Regions from separate parts of the Homo sapiens genome. Here all the other regions are linked to region 1. Evidence: promoter capture Hi-C in human tissues and cell types (Jung and others, 2019). All regions are on one chromosome and are shown on one strand. The core of a region is centred on a gene start or on the middle of the fragment in contact, and the rest is flanking DNA. Distances in the headings are between cores, read along the strand shown. Region 1 holds the start of PPP1R17 (protein phosphatase 1 regulatory subunit 17). Region 2 has its middle 53 kb from the start of PPP1R17. Region 3 overlaps ITPRID1 (ITPR interacting domain containing 1).

Region 1 (4,393 bases), core at 844-3,343:
TGAAAAAAAAAAAGCCAAACCCAAAAGGCTACCTACTGTATTATTCCATTATTAAAACATTCTTGAATTGACAAAATTATAGAAATGGAGAATAGATTCATGGTTGCCGAGTTTAAAAAGTGATTGGGAGCAGGAGGTTAGGAAGGAACGGAGGGGGGCATGGCTATATAACGGCAAGATAAGGGAGGCTTGTGGTGACAGAAATGTTCTGTATATATTCATGTAAATATCAACATACTGGTTTTGATATTGTAGGATAGTTTCATAAGATGTTACCATTGGATATAACTGCTTACGTATAGGAGATCTCCCTGTATTATCCCTCACAACGACATGTAGATCTATTACCTCAAAACAGTTTAATTCAAAAGAAGAATTCAAGGATTTCAGAAGGAAAGTATATCTTTTCCACTCAAGTGTGGACTGAAGATGCTGCTAACTCATTGGCCAACAAGGCTGTTGTTAAGAAGATAAAGTAAGGCAGGGTTTAATGCCTAGGTGATGGGTTGATAGGTCCAGCAAACCACCATGGCACACGTTTACCTATGTAACAAACCTGCACGTCCTGCACATGTGTCCCAGCACTGAAAATAAAATAAAATTTAAAAAATGAAGAAGATAAAGCAGGCAGTTTTGAACACAGACCTGCTTCTAGGCCCTGTCCCTCAACATCTAGGGCCTTCCCTTCCTAGACAAGAGCATCACCTTTCAGCAACCCTCATCTCTTCCCAGGAGGTCCCAATAAGGATCAACACAAAATGGAACAGGCAAAGAAGTCCATTCTCTGCTTATCTGTTACCATGGCAAAAGTCTAACCCTAGGAGTCAACCTCTTGGTGAGTTTACTATGGTTCTAGCCCTGTTATTTGGGATCCTGGCAAGTGGGAGGGAGGCACCAACAAACACATTGCCAGTGGCAAGCAGGCAGTTGAAACCAAGGGGTTGCCAGGGACCTGCTCTGCAGGGAACCTCAGGTAAGACTGGAAAAAATATGGATGTGTGGATGGTGCTCACGTATCTTCTGTGAGAACATATTTCTTGGGCATCACTGGGTGGTCCATTGGCTGCTATCAGGGGGTCTGGAGCCCTTCTAGTGGGTCCTGATACCTACCTGATCTCCCAGACTGGCCTTCCTGCTTTGGAGTCAAAACTGCTGCTCCTCCAAACCCCAGTGGGCTCTCCTCCAGTGAGCAGACCCAAAACATAGAACCTTCCTCTCCAAAAGACAGCATGTCTCCCGCCTCTCCCACCTTGCTTAAACATCCACTCTTGAGTGCCTACGTATTCCTAATATTGGTACATTTGGCTTTGTTCCTTTGAAGGAGGAAATTTTTTCTGGCCTGCACACTATAACCTATAGAGTTGGGGGCTGCTTTCTTTGCTATGTGCTGTTTGAAATGCTCTCTTTGCTGAGAGGTATTGCAAAGTGGTTACAAGCGTGGACCCTAGCATTTCATTACCCCATTCAAACCCTAGCTTCACCATGTGGGGAGACCTTGGTCAGATGATTTGGTAACTCTTGAGCCCCAGCTTCCTCATCAATAAAATGGGATGATGACTGTAGCTCATCTCACAAGGTTGGCCTGAGGGTTAAGTAAGTAGATATGTGTGAAGTCTCTAGAAGAGTGTCTGGCATTTTGGTAGCCTTACATAAATGTTAGCAGTAGCTACCCTTCTCTTCCTCCTCATGATAGTACTTTGAGAAGCAGCAATAGTGATTGAAAGTACTCTGGATTTAAACTTAAATAGCTTTGAGAGTCGAAATTAGCTGTGGCCTCTCTTGGGCATATCACTTAACTTCTTGTGCCTCAGTTTCCATATTTACAAAATCAGGCCAAAAAAAATCTATCGCATGGGAATTCAATGATGTAGCTGGTTTGTCTGAATTTCTCTGGTGTGCACACCGGAAACTCAAAGCACGACTCTATACTGTACTTTTGTAATGTACAATGATTGCCGTGGAGAGCAGCGATGGAGATGTTAGTCCTCTTTCCTTCTCCATCCCCCTTGCCCTGGTGCCTGTGAAACAGAGCATCCCCATGGCAACAGCAGCAGCTGGTCCCTAGATAAGAGGAGCTGGAGCCGGCCAGCAGCAGCCACTGCCGCAGAGGAGCCAGGCCCAGCCTCGGTGAGCACACACGCCCTCCCTGTCTCTCGCCTTCGCTTCCCTGCATCTGCGCTGATTGGTAAGTGCTTCAGATTTTTACTCCAAGAACTTTTGTGGTGAGAAAAGCAAGTTTCCAGTCAGTTACTGGGACAAAGAAGGCTGTAGCTGGTGGCACGGGGTTGTGCTTTATGGAGCAAGGCTAAGCTGGGGCCGAGTGGACAGCAGAAAAAGTTACCACTTTCAAGTCATTCTTCCAAGGGAGGGAATGGAGTTCTGTAAAAGACTGAACCCTCACAAACTCATTTGCAAAGTTTCAAGATGAAGTTGGTGTATCTGCATATTCACACAGGATAGAGAGGTTTATCTTCCAAGGCTGGGGAAAGTACAGAAAGTATGCTTCTCAAAACACATTCTCCATGCCCTACTTTAAGTCAGTCTCTCCTCCAGGAATACTGCCAATTTAGGTTTTCTAAATGAACAAATCTGATTTTAAAAGACGGTACTTTTTGACCTGAATTCAATCCTCTGGTTAAAAAGAGGTTTGACAATGAATATGTATTTTACATAGCCAGAGGGTGCATTAACGAGATACCACATAGGCTGTGGATACAACCTTCTACCCTTTTATTCCATCCAGTAAATCAAGACCTGATTACTTTGGGGGATATTCTTCAGAATACCGTATGGTAAGCTAAGTGTCAACTCGCTTCTGAGAATCAGTTCTATTATGTTCCCAAGATTTAGAAATGGGTTGGTTTTTGTCTTGAACTATTCTCATCTCATTACCAGCTTCAGAGAAGGCCAGAGATGGGATAAAGAGATAATTCTGATAGATCAATTTAGATAGACATATAATCACAAATGGAGGACTGAAAGATCCAAGAAGGTCCCTCACACTCACGAAAATATCAGTGTGTAGGACCTGGGCTCGGGACTCCATGCACATTCTATGGGTAATACTCTCAACAACCCTGGAGAAGAGCCACTATCTTCCCCCATTTAACAGATTTGAAAACTAAATTTTTGAGAGAACAGATAACTGTCCCAAGTTCACCCAGCTAGAGAGTGGTACAAGCAGCCAAACGTTGGCTTCTACCTTATATTGACTCACAGCATCCAATCTTAAAGTTGAGAGGAATTTTCTTCCCATAATTTAAACCGCATATTCTCACATCCAACTGAGAAAACCGCTCAATGATAAGAGAAAAGACAAAAAATCCAGACCAGCTTCTGACCACACACTGAACCAACTAATGTGTTTCAGCTCCGCTGGTGTGCCTGCCTTTCTGCAATATAGTGGGGTCCCTTTTCTGGCACCCAGTTCCTTCCCCCTTTCAGTTCCTGTTCTCAAAAGAGAAGGTGACCTTTGTCATTAACAATCCCTGTGTATTGTGACATCAATTTACATATTGCTGCTCTTAGTGGTATTTGCATTTACAAGTATCTCTCTGTAAAAAGAAAGGTTTTGTCCCTTGTGAAAAGGAAGGTAAGGATTAGTAAGAGGAAGTTACAAGAGTTTAAAATCTGAAATCCTGAAATCCTTTCTCAAACCCTGAAATCATATCTCTTGGTCTCTTGCATACTACACTGAATACCTACATTCTGTCAAACAACCACAACCAGAAGAGTAATTCGATCAATACTCTTTCATTCTCTAATTAAGAAATCTGAAACATTTTGAAAACCAAAAGGTTTGTTGTTAAGTTCAACACAAACTCATTTGGTAGCAAAGCCTGACCTGAAAGAATGTGAATTTTTTGTGGTTTGTCTTTATGTCACTTAGTGTGAATATTCATAGTTTTGCTGCAGAAATAATGGATGTGACTGCTGGTGCTCCTTGAGACCCCTCTAGAGCTGTTATATAATTTAAACAGTCCTGATTTCCACAGCACGTTTGACTCCAGGCTTGTCACAAGGGTGGGTGGCCAATATTGCAATGACAGTGGCAGTCCACGTCCCTGTGTGAGTGTTAGAATTCAGAGCCCACACTGAACCAATAAGTGGAAAGAGGATGTTAAAAAGGTCACAAGTCTTTGTAGTAGACACAGTTTATGAAAACACCCCCAAATGTGAAGTATTAGACAACAAGCCTCTCTGGAGGCCCTAGCTTTTTGGTTGAATTCTGAAGATGCAGAGGACCAACTATGCAGGCATGAAAGAAAGAGCTGGTGCCTTAGAAAGTTCCCAAGTTACAGGGAGATGATGAAACCTTCCCTGGGCAGCCCAACAAGTGCAGCATCCCTTTATGACACCTGCTTGGGGTAGAGACTGAATTAAAGAGAGGAAG
Region 2 (4,393 bases), core at 1,409-3,908, 53 kb after region 1:
AGATCGCACCATTGCACTCCAGCCTGGGTGAGAGAGCGACACTCCATCTCAAAAAAAAAAAAAAAAAAGTCCATTTCTTCTGCAATAACCATTCAAAAACACTCTAGTTTTGATCATCATAAATAAGGAGAGGTAAGAACCAGAGATTTAAGCCCTGTTTGCCTCAAAGGACTGTTATATAGGTTAAATAACAGCATAGAAAACCTGAAAAACCCTAGTAGATGCCCATAGGGATTTGTCTCCTTCCCCTTTGGGCTGGAGTTCCTTTACCTATCCCTGCCCACCTTTCCGCTGCTGTCACCCAGTCCTCTCCTGTGCCCCAGTGCTGGCATCAGCTTTAGACGATGCTCAGTGTACACCTCCCTCCAGCCACGCAGCCTAGCAGGCCAGTGCGAGACCCAGGAAGAGTCGAGGGTGAGGTGAGAAGGGCTAAAGAGAGGATACATGAGCCCAATCTCAATGGAATCAGGGTGTATCAGTCTGTTCTCACGCTGCTAATAAAGATATACCTGAGACTGGGTAATTACAAAGGAAAGAGGTTTAATGGACTCACAGTTCCGCATGGGTGGGGAGGCCTCACAATCATGGCGGTAGGTGAATGAGGAGCAAGTCACATCTTCACGGTGGCAGGCAAGAGCGCTTGCGCAGGGGAACTACCATTTATAAAACCATTAGATCTCCCGAGACTTATTCACTACCATAAGAACAGTATAAGGGAAACTGCCCCCAGGATTCAGTTATCGCCACCTGGCCCTGCTCTTGACAGGTGGGGATTATTGCAATTCAAGGTGAGATTTGGGTGAAGACACTGCCAAGCCATATCACAGGTGCTGCTTGAAAAGCAACCCAGCTAGGAGAGGCATTTCTGCAAGGCCATCCCAGGGGGCATAATTCCCATAGCACCAAGCCGCCATGGGCCAGGAGGGCAGCAAGCCCAGGGGCTTCTTGGAGATGGTGGCCAGCTGGTGAGGAAAAAATAAGACTTGGGACTCAGGAAGACCTGGGTTGGAACAGAAGCATCCCCAGGTGCCACCTGTGTCACCTGAAGCGGGGCACAGAGCACTCTCAGCCTGCATGTTCTCCCAGGTAGACCAGGATGGTAATGGCTGCCTCAGGATGTGGTGAGTATGTGATGAACTAGCACAGGAAAGCCTGTGCCATGGAGACCTTCTCACAGGAAATGCTCAGGACGGGTTTGTTCTCCTTGGAGAATACCAGTTCCCCTCCTGACTTCATTCCCCTTCCCCCACACCCCTGCCCCCCACATATACATATGCATGTACCTCATCCTACACCCCTATAAATGCCCCCACCTGCCTGTTTCCATCCTCAAATCCTTGACTTCCTTCTGCTCATGCTGTCTGATTACCTATTGAGTTCTTCTTGCAGAACTCTGGAAGATTTCCTGTTCACTAAAACGTCAGTGATTGACGTCAGCAGTAACTTTTAGACACACACACACACACACACACACACACACACACACACCAGCTCTTCTGGAGCAAATTTTAGTGATGATCTCATCTTTATATGAGTGGAATAAAGCCTCACTCAGGCATCAGCCAGTTCAAGGAAAATTTATAGAAAGGGTAGGGTGCAAGAGAGCCTTCATGGGGTCCCTAGAAATCTACGCCATGGGTGAGAGGGAATGCCCTTGTTTTATAAAGGCTCCTGGAAGCATCGTGATCTTGATGGGAATGTAAATAATCATTCATTGAGCACTGACCATGTGTCGGGCACTATGTTATGAGCTTTAGTGCATTTTCTAATGTAATCATTCCGGCTGCTAGGATATGCACTTAATCCAAAGAAAGTGGTTACTTGAAGGATTGGATCATTTGTCCAAGGTCACACAGCTAGCAAGCCATGGAGCTACAGAATAAGTTCAATAATGGAGGTGTGCTCAGAAGCCCAGTGCACGAGTGGAGGTCCTCCTTATGGTCACGTAGAAGCACACTCTCAGTGCAGGAAAGGGAACCAGTTTGGTGAACACTCAGTCAGTGTTGCCCTCTCCCCCAACTAAACAAAAATGTAAAACCCTAGAATTAGTGTCCTCACCCAAGGAGAACCAATTAGGCACCCAAAATGGTGGTCTCAAACAGCAGTCTGCAAATGGGATTTGCCCACCATGTGGATCATGAACTTTCAGAGGGCACATTGACGTAGAACACTTTAAATAATTTAGTTTCCTAATTTTTGACTTTACTTTCTCTCTCTTTCCCAAAACCGATCTGCCTGAGAACTGGCCTACACGTTCATGCAGGCTGTCATTTCCTATCTTACCTTTTCCCACTCTACAAAAGGAAGGCATGCCATGAAATACTGGCTGTGTAAGCCTCTCTAGCACTTGTCTCCCCATGTCTTGCACCTTTTGCTCTGAAGGGCTAGAATGTGGCATTTCCACTCTCTTTGAGCTGCCCTCATGGGATTCCTTTGGATGGCAATGGGCTCTTTGCTGCTATTTAGGGAATTCTGCAAACAAAGTCACCCACTATGCCACCCTCCAACATGACACAAGAAAAATAACAATATTGGCAAAGGTGTGTTATAACTAATGTTTCTTTTTTTCCAAGCAGTGAATGACTAACATACATATGTTATGTATACACATGCAGACAGGCACATATAGATATCTAATTTATAATCATTTGATGAGTCTAAGTAAGACTTTTAGTGCACTTTAAAAAATTGAGAAAGTGCATGATTCAAATGCCTGGGTTATAAATCCTTCTCCAACTCAAGTAGTTTCCAATTCTTCACTTATAACAAAATTGAAATAAGATCTATTTAAGCTGTCAGAATGCTAGATTACCATGTGCTTATTTTTGACACATTACCCAAAGAGAGTTCAAAGATTTAAGGAACATTACTATAATAAAACTTCTTCTATTTCCATATCCTTATTTATGTGAACTAGTTTTCTCAATGCTAAAAATGAAACATCATATCATTCTAGCAATAAATAATATATGGCAATGGATTCATGTACTAATTGAGGAAAAATGCCTCACTATCTCATCAAGGATTGCATTTTCAGGCCAGGCACGGTGGCTTACATCTGTAATCTCAGCACTTTGGGAGGCTGAGGAAGAAGGATCATTTTAAGTCAGGAGTTTGAGACCAGCCTGGGAAACGTAGCAAGACCCTGTCTCTACAAAAAACTGAAAAATTAGCCAGGAGTGATGGTACATGCCTGTAGTCCCAGCTACTCAGGAGGCTGAAGTGGGAGGATCTCTTGAGTCTAGGAGTTTGAGGCTGCAGTGATCATGCCACTGCACTCCAGCCTGGCCAACAGACAAAGACCCTGTCTCAAAAAAAAAAAAAATAGAATTGCATATTGTACATTTTATGTTTACTAATTTGTTTAACGATATTTATAATATAATGTTGTTTTGATCTTTTAGTCTCAGCTTTGTGGTGCTGTGACTTTTCACCTTTTTTATTTCTATTTTTCTTTATATTTTATCTTTCCTGAGTATTATTACTTATGAGAAATTTGGAAAGTCTACATAAGGTGATGGTAACTAGATTAACTGGTTTTAGCTGAATTTTACATCTTTCTAAAGTTTCATAATATATACCTTACCTTATCCAGCTTCAATCCTTTACCATATTTTAACTTCATATTTTTAATCTTTAACTGTTCCTATTCTAAAATAAATTTATCCACTCAATTATGTGCAGTATTATCAATTTTCTCATTCCTTTCCTTAACTAATATAATCTCTCAAATTGTTACATTATTTCACTTTTCTCTAAATTTCATTCTACTATGTTTTAACTGCTTTGTATCTTATTTTTCACTTTAATTTTCACATGTATTTTCAGTTATTTTTACCCATTTTCATCTTCTTTAGACTTCTAACAAGGTTCTGGTGACTGGGTTTTATTCCAGCCTATATTTTACCTGCCTGTAGCAAGAAAGTTTTGTCTTCCTTTTAGGCAGTTACAGACATATTCTCCCAGAATGTGGCTCATCATAGGGATCAGGAAGAAATGAGCTTACCTAGGGATGAAGACAAGCTTTGGTATGACTGGCATGAAAGGCATAAGGGGTGGAAAATGGCTGTGGCTGCAGAAGATACTGGGGAGGGAGGCAGGGACCAGGTCCCATGTGCCCCAATTCTCTTCCTGCAGCCTCCCCAGAGTTAACAACTTCTGTTTTCACAGCTCAGGCATAGCCCTCATCACATTGTTTGCTAGCTATTTGCTCCTAAAACTATCTGCCCACTGGATGAGAGCTCCGGAGACCTAAGACTGTGTTTTAGTCACTGCTGCATTCTTAGCACCTGAAACAGGAAAGGAATTTGACCAATATTATTGAACAAAGGAATGAATCAGTGGTATTCTAGATCAGGAATAAAGGCATGAAGAAAGAGAATGAGACTGGTAC
Region 3 (4,393 bases), core at 618-3,117, 38 kb before region 1:
AACCCCGTCTCCATTAAAACTACAAAAAAAAAAAAAAAAATTAACTGGGTGTGGTGGTGTGTGCCTATAATCCCAGCTACTTGGAAGGCTGAGGCAAGAGAATCACTTGAACCTGGGAGGCGGAGACTGCAGTGAGGTGAGATCATGCCACTGCACTCCAGCCTGAGCAACAGAGAGAGTCTCCGTCTCAAAAAAAAAAAAAAAAAAAAAAGAAGAGGAAGAAGAAGACGATGACGACAACGACGACGACAATGGGAGTTCTGAGCAGATGTTGAAACTAAGAGCAATTTTAGGTAAAGGACTTGAAGACTCAAAAACATCATTATCTTACCCCCCTAATATAGCAATATATAACACTGCAGATAAACATTTGACTAATTGATAAATGCCATTTTTGTGGCCTTTTTGGGTTGTCTAGGGTAATGATTTGTTGATATAATTAAATTTTCACATATAAGTGAGTTATTTGCAATAATTTGTTAATTCAAAAAAATGGTTTGTTGGTATAACTAAATTGTTATATATAGGTAAATTCTTCAGGATAATTTGTTAATTTTAAAAAGTGTTAATTCAAAAAAAATTCCAGAAAAGAAAATGAGATCTATCAGAAATAAGATTTCTGAATATTAGAAGTGCTTCCATATTGTTTATGATTTAGTTTTAGAGAAAAGTAAAAGTACACAAATAAGAAAAAGTAATATGAGCATATTCAAAGTGAAAATTCATTGTCTTTTGGTGATGGTGCTCTTACCATTGAAGTTAAAGTTTGTTTCAATGGGTTTGGGTCAGTAGAGCAGAACTTGCATTTGGTATTTGGGTTATAATCAAGCCTTTATATTGTAAGAAAAAGAAGAAGAAGAAAAAGAAGAAATGTTCAAAACACTCTATTTTTGAGGGTTTTTATTTATTTTTTTTCTCACCTACAGTTTTCTTTATTATGAAATCATTTCTATACTTATTCTAGGGCTAAAATGTGTTTTTCCATGTTTCCAAATAACCAGAAGATGGCAGCATTTCAGAATCTTCCACATCCCTCCACCATTCTCAGAGAGCAAACACTCCATCAGTTATTCCCAAACCAAAACACCCCAGTCTTATACCTTTCAATCACAAAAGGCTACCCCAAAATAACTACATGAGCATAAAATTCAATGTTTATGATGTTCAGCCTATTTGAGCACTACACTTCCATGATCCTGGCGTCACTGTCCCCAGAACTTTGAAGTGAATTTGAACCAGTTGGGAAGTCTTGGTTACCTGATGGGAAGCTACTAGAACCACTCAAACAGCTCGCTGCTAAGGGACAAGCAACTTATCCTTGTGTTCAGCTATACTGTGGTCCCTGCTGTGACTCAGATCTTAGAAGAAAAGAAATGAAACAAGAGATGGGTTCGAAATCTTACTGCCATTTTTTGACCACAGACAAGTTAACTAGCCATTCTATGTCAGAACACGTATCTATAACAGATGCCCTTCATGGTCTACAAGATCTTTTCTGGTCTTAAGAGCCATAATCTAGCATTCCTGCCAACATCAGTATCACTTCAGAGATTCCCTAAGTGTTTCAAATTCACTCACATTGATGCAAGAGTAATTGCAAAATTGCAAAATTGATGCAAGAGCTTTACTATGCAAAATACGTTATTCAGTATAAAAGCGAGAGGATAGAATCAAAACCAAACTCCAAAACCAAAATATGGAGAGTTTTCAATATAAAAACATTACTCTTAGGAAAGTATTTCCATTATGACAATTCTGGTAAAAATAGCCATCCGGCTGCCAGGATGTTGGCCATGTAGTTTAGAGAGGAAGGGTAAGAAATCTCAGACTTCCTAGAAACAGGGCTAGAGGAGTCCACCTAGCTGTAAAGTTGGTCTCCATGGAAGGAGGAAGAAGAGAAGCTTCAAAACAGCCAGCCTGCAAGATCAGTTTCCTTTAAAGCACACCACAGAAGCCCCACAGCATGCTCTCTGTTCCCAGCTCACTGGCCATTGTCTCTACAAGGAATGCTGGGAAATGTAATTTTTTAGCTAGACACATGGATGCCTCTAAAGTATTCTTGTTAACAAGAATAAAGGAGAGAAAGATTGTGAGTAGTCAACTAGCAGCCTCTGCTACACTGATTTTGGGAAGGGGTCCAAGCCTGTGGGTCTGATAGAGATGGCTTTAGGGCCTAACAAGCATTAATATTACTCAAAGTCAAATGGTTAGTGGCCCTGGAGTTCTGGGTCATGGATTTCAAAGCATGATCCAACCCAGGATGCAAAACAAAGGGGATAGCTGGTAAGAACTCAGCAAGTCATCAGAGTGCCGGCAAATGGACTGGGCTTGGAGGTGCCAAAGGTAAATAGCTTTAGTTAAAGCCATGAAAACAGATTGTGTTCAGCAACTACTGACAGCAGGGGAAAGAGCTGAGCTCCACTCCAATTTGTGCAGAGGTGATTTGGGCATTCTAAAGAGAGAATAAGGGAGGGTGAAGAGTAGGGGCTCAGTAGAGTCAGAAAAGTGAAAAATCACAAAGAATTGGTCCATGTCAATGCCATTAGACCAACTGTGTTTGTGAGCCAGCAGTAACTGAAGTTAGGATTCTGCCCTCCTAGAGACCGGGGACAGAGGCCCAAACCTTCTAGATGATTACATTTCAAAGGAGTGGCTCTCAGGTCCTTGAGAGAGACACTTGTGAGTTGTAAGAAATACATATTTACAATTATAATCAACATTTAATAAATACTCTTAGAAAGGGCCTATGTCAGGTGTTGGCGAAAGCAAACAGTAAATTTTCCTGGCAGCCTTTAGATTTCTCAGTCAGGCTTTTTATTGGGGGATGGGGAGGTTAAGGTCATCCCAGGGACACAGCCTTGTGCTGCTGGGAGGCAGACTGGAGGGTGGTCAAGTCTGTTAGTGGAGAGTTCCAAAGTTCTCAGGAGCTGCAGGAATATATTTAAATGAGAAAACCAAGGCAAAGGCACAGCCTGAGAGAGAAAGTAAGAGTTAAACGATGACTACATCAGGAGCAATGGGAAGGATTAAAAGCGTAGACAAAGTTCAATTCTAGATTCCAACTCCTGGAGATGACAGGATGCCTAACCTTTGCCTGCCTTCCTCAGGGTGGGCTTGTTAGGTGGATGAAGCTGATCCTGCAGATTCCAACCTCCAGGACTGTGACTAAGCAGGACTAAGACTAATAAACATTATTCTAAGCAGATTTTCTTTAATCAAACACATACCAGCTGAACAGATGTGTTCAATGTTATTGATACTCAGAGTGAGGCAGTACCCAGCAACAAAGTTAAACAAGATTAAACAGACTCAATTTCTCACAAACCCTTACTCTGGCACTTCCCCTCCTCTCTTCTACCTACATCCTTGCATCCCTATGTCACCTAGGCCTCCAGACTGCCTTCCAGCCTCTGGGACACAATGATTGTCACCCAAAGGCCACCCAACAACAGCTGCCCTTCTGTTGCAGATGAGCACTGTCACTAGTTGTTTTGTGAACCCAAATATTGGGCTCTTCCTATTCCCTCCCCCTTATATTAGCAGTAGGGCCTGTTTGCGAAAAAAGGGATCCCAAATGGGAAGACAGGCTCCACCATGGTGAGCTCTTGCAGAGGATCAGAGAGGACTTTCTTCTCAGTTCTTTCTCATTGTTCTCAGTGCACAGTCCATGAGATGGAAGCCATGAAGACGATATGCCAAAGTTTCCGGGAGTATTTAGAAGAAATTGAACAGCACCTTATGGGACAGCAGGCCCTCTTTTCCAGGGACATGTCAGAGGAGGAAAGGTAATTACCTAAGGGAGCCATAAAAGTAAGTACCAGCCCACACACCTGGAGCAAGGAAGATAATCAGGGCAGAACAGAGGAGCACCCTGGAGCAGAGCTAATGAGAAACCGGCCAGCTTTTCCTTTGCTTTCTTGGTCTTGTTCTTGCTTTCTCAGTGGGAGTCTGTGAGAGCCATTTGCTAGATAGCAATACTTATTCTTGGAGAAGGTCAAAAGACAGGCAGTCAGGGGCATTGACAGCAGGATGTCTTTAATCAATGGGATGGGGCTCGTGCAAATGCAAATGTGGGAGTTATGAGAGTTTTGAAAATCTGCATTGGGGCTGGGGATGGAAATCAGGTTTAACTGTAAAGGGAGAGGCATACGGGTTTTTCTTGGGGAAATAGAAGTGTTTTAAAACTGAATAGTGGTGATGATTACACAATTTGGTAAATTTATTAAAAATTATTAAATTGTGCTCTTAAAATAGGGGAACTATATTATACTGCAATAAAGTTGTTTTTTTTTTTTAAAGAAGACAACCTTAGTAATGTCTCCAGCTGACACAAATAAAGATGACATTCTCTTTTAAGAAATTGCAAAGGAAGAACCTATATTATGAGGTGACA

Evidence for each region. Contacts are between HindIII fragments. The study calls those that stand out against the background at their distance.
Region 2: a fragment that was not itself captured here is called in contact with the fragment with the promoter of PPP1R17 in region 1 in 2 of the 25 tissues and cell types used here (hippocampus and neural progenitor cells).
Region 3: a fragment that was not itself captured here is called in contact with the fragment with the promoter of PPP1R17 in region 1 in 5 of the 25 tissues and cell types used here (adrenal gland, heart left ventricle, liver and 2 more).

The regions. Positions count from the first base shown.
Region 1 is chr7:31,685,122-31,689,514 of GRCh38, forward strand. PPP1R17 (protein phosphatase 1 regulatory subunit 17) reads left to right here and starts at 2,094. Exons shown (of 5, transcript NM_006658.5): 1 at 2,094-2,185. It also overlaps a transcript of PDE1C not described here. The HindIII fragment of the contact is 11,578 bases long and covers 1-4,393 here.
Region 2 is chr7:31,737,751-31,742,143 of GRCh38, forward strand. It overlaps a transcript of PDE1C not described here. Among named protein-coding and RNA genes, the nearest start is that of PPP1R17, 53 kb to the left of the region's middle. The HindIII fragment of the contact is 9,356 bases long and covers 1-4,393 here.
Region 3 is chr7:31,647,485-31,651,877 of GRCh38, forward strand. ITPRID1 (ITPR interacting domain containing 1) reads left to right here. Exons shown (of 15, transcript NM_001257967.3): 13 at 3,658-3,785. It also overlaps a transcript of PDE1C not described here. Among named protein-coding and RNA genes, the nearest start is that of PPP1R17, 38 kb to the right of the region's middle. RefSeq lists an enhancer at 3,703-4,261. The HindIII fragment of the contact is 6,446 bases long and covers 1-4,393 here.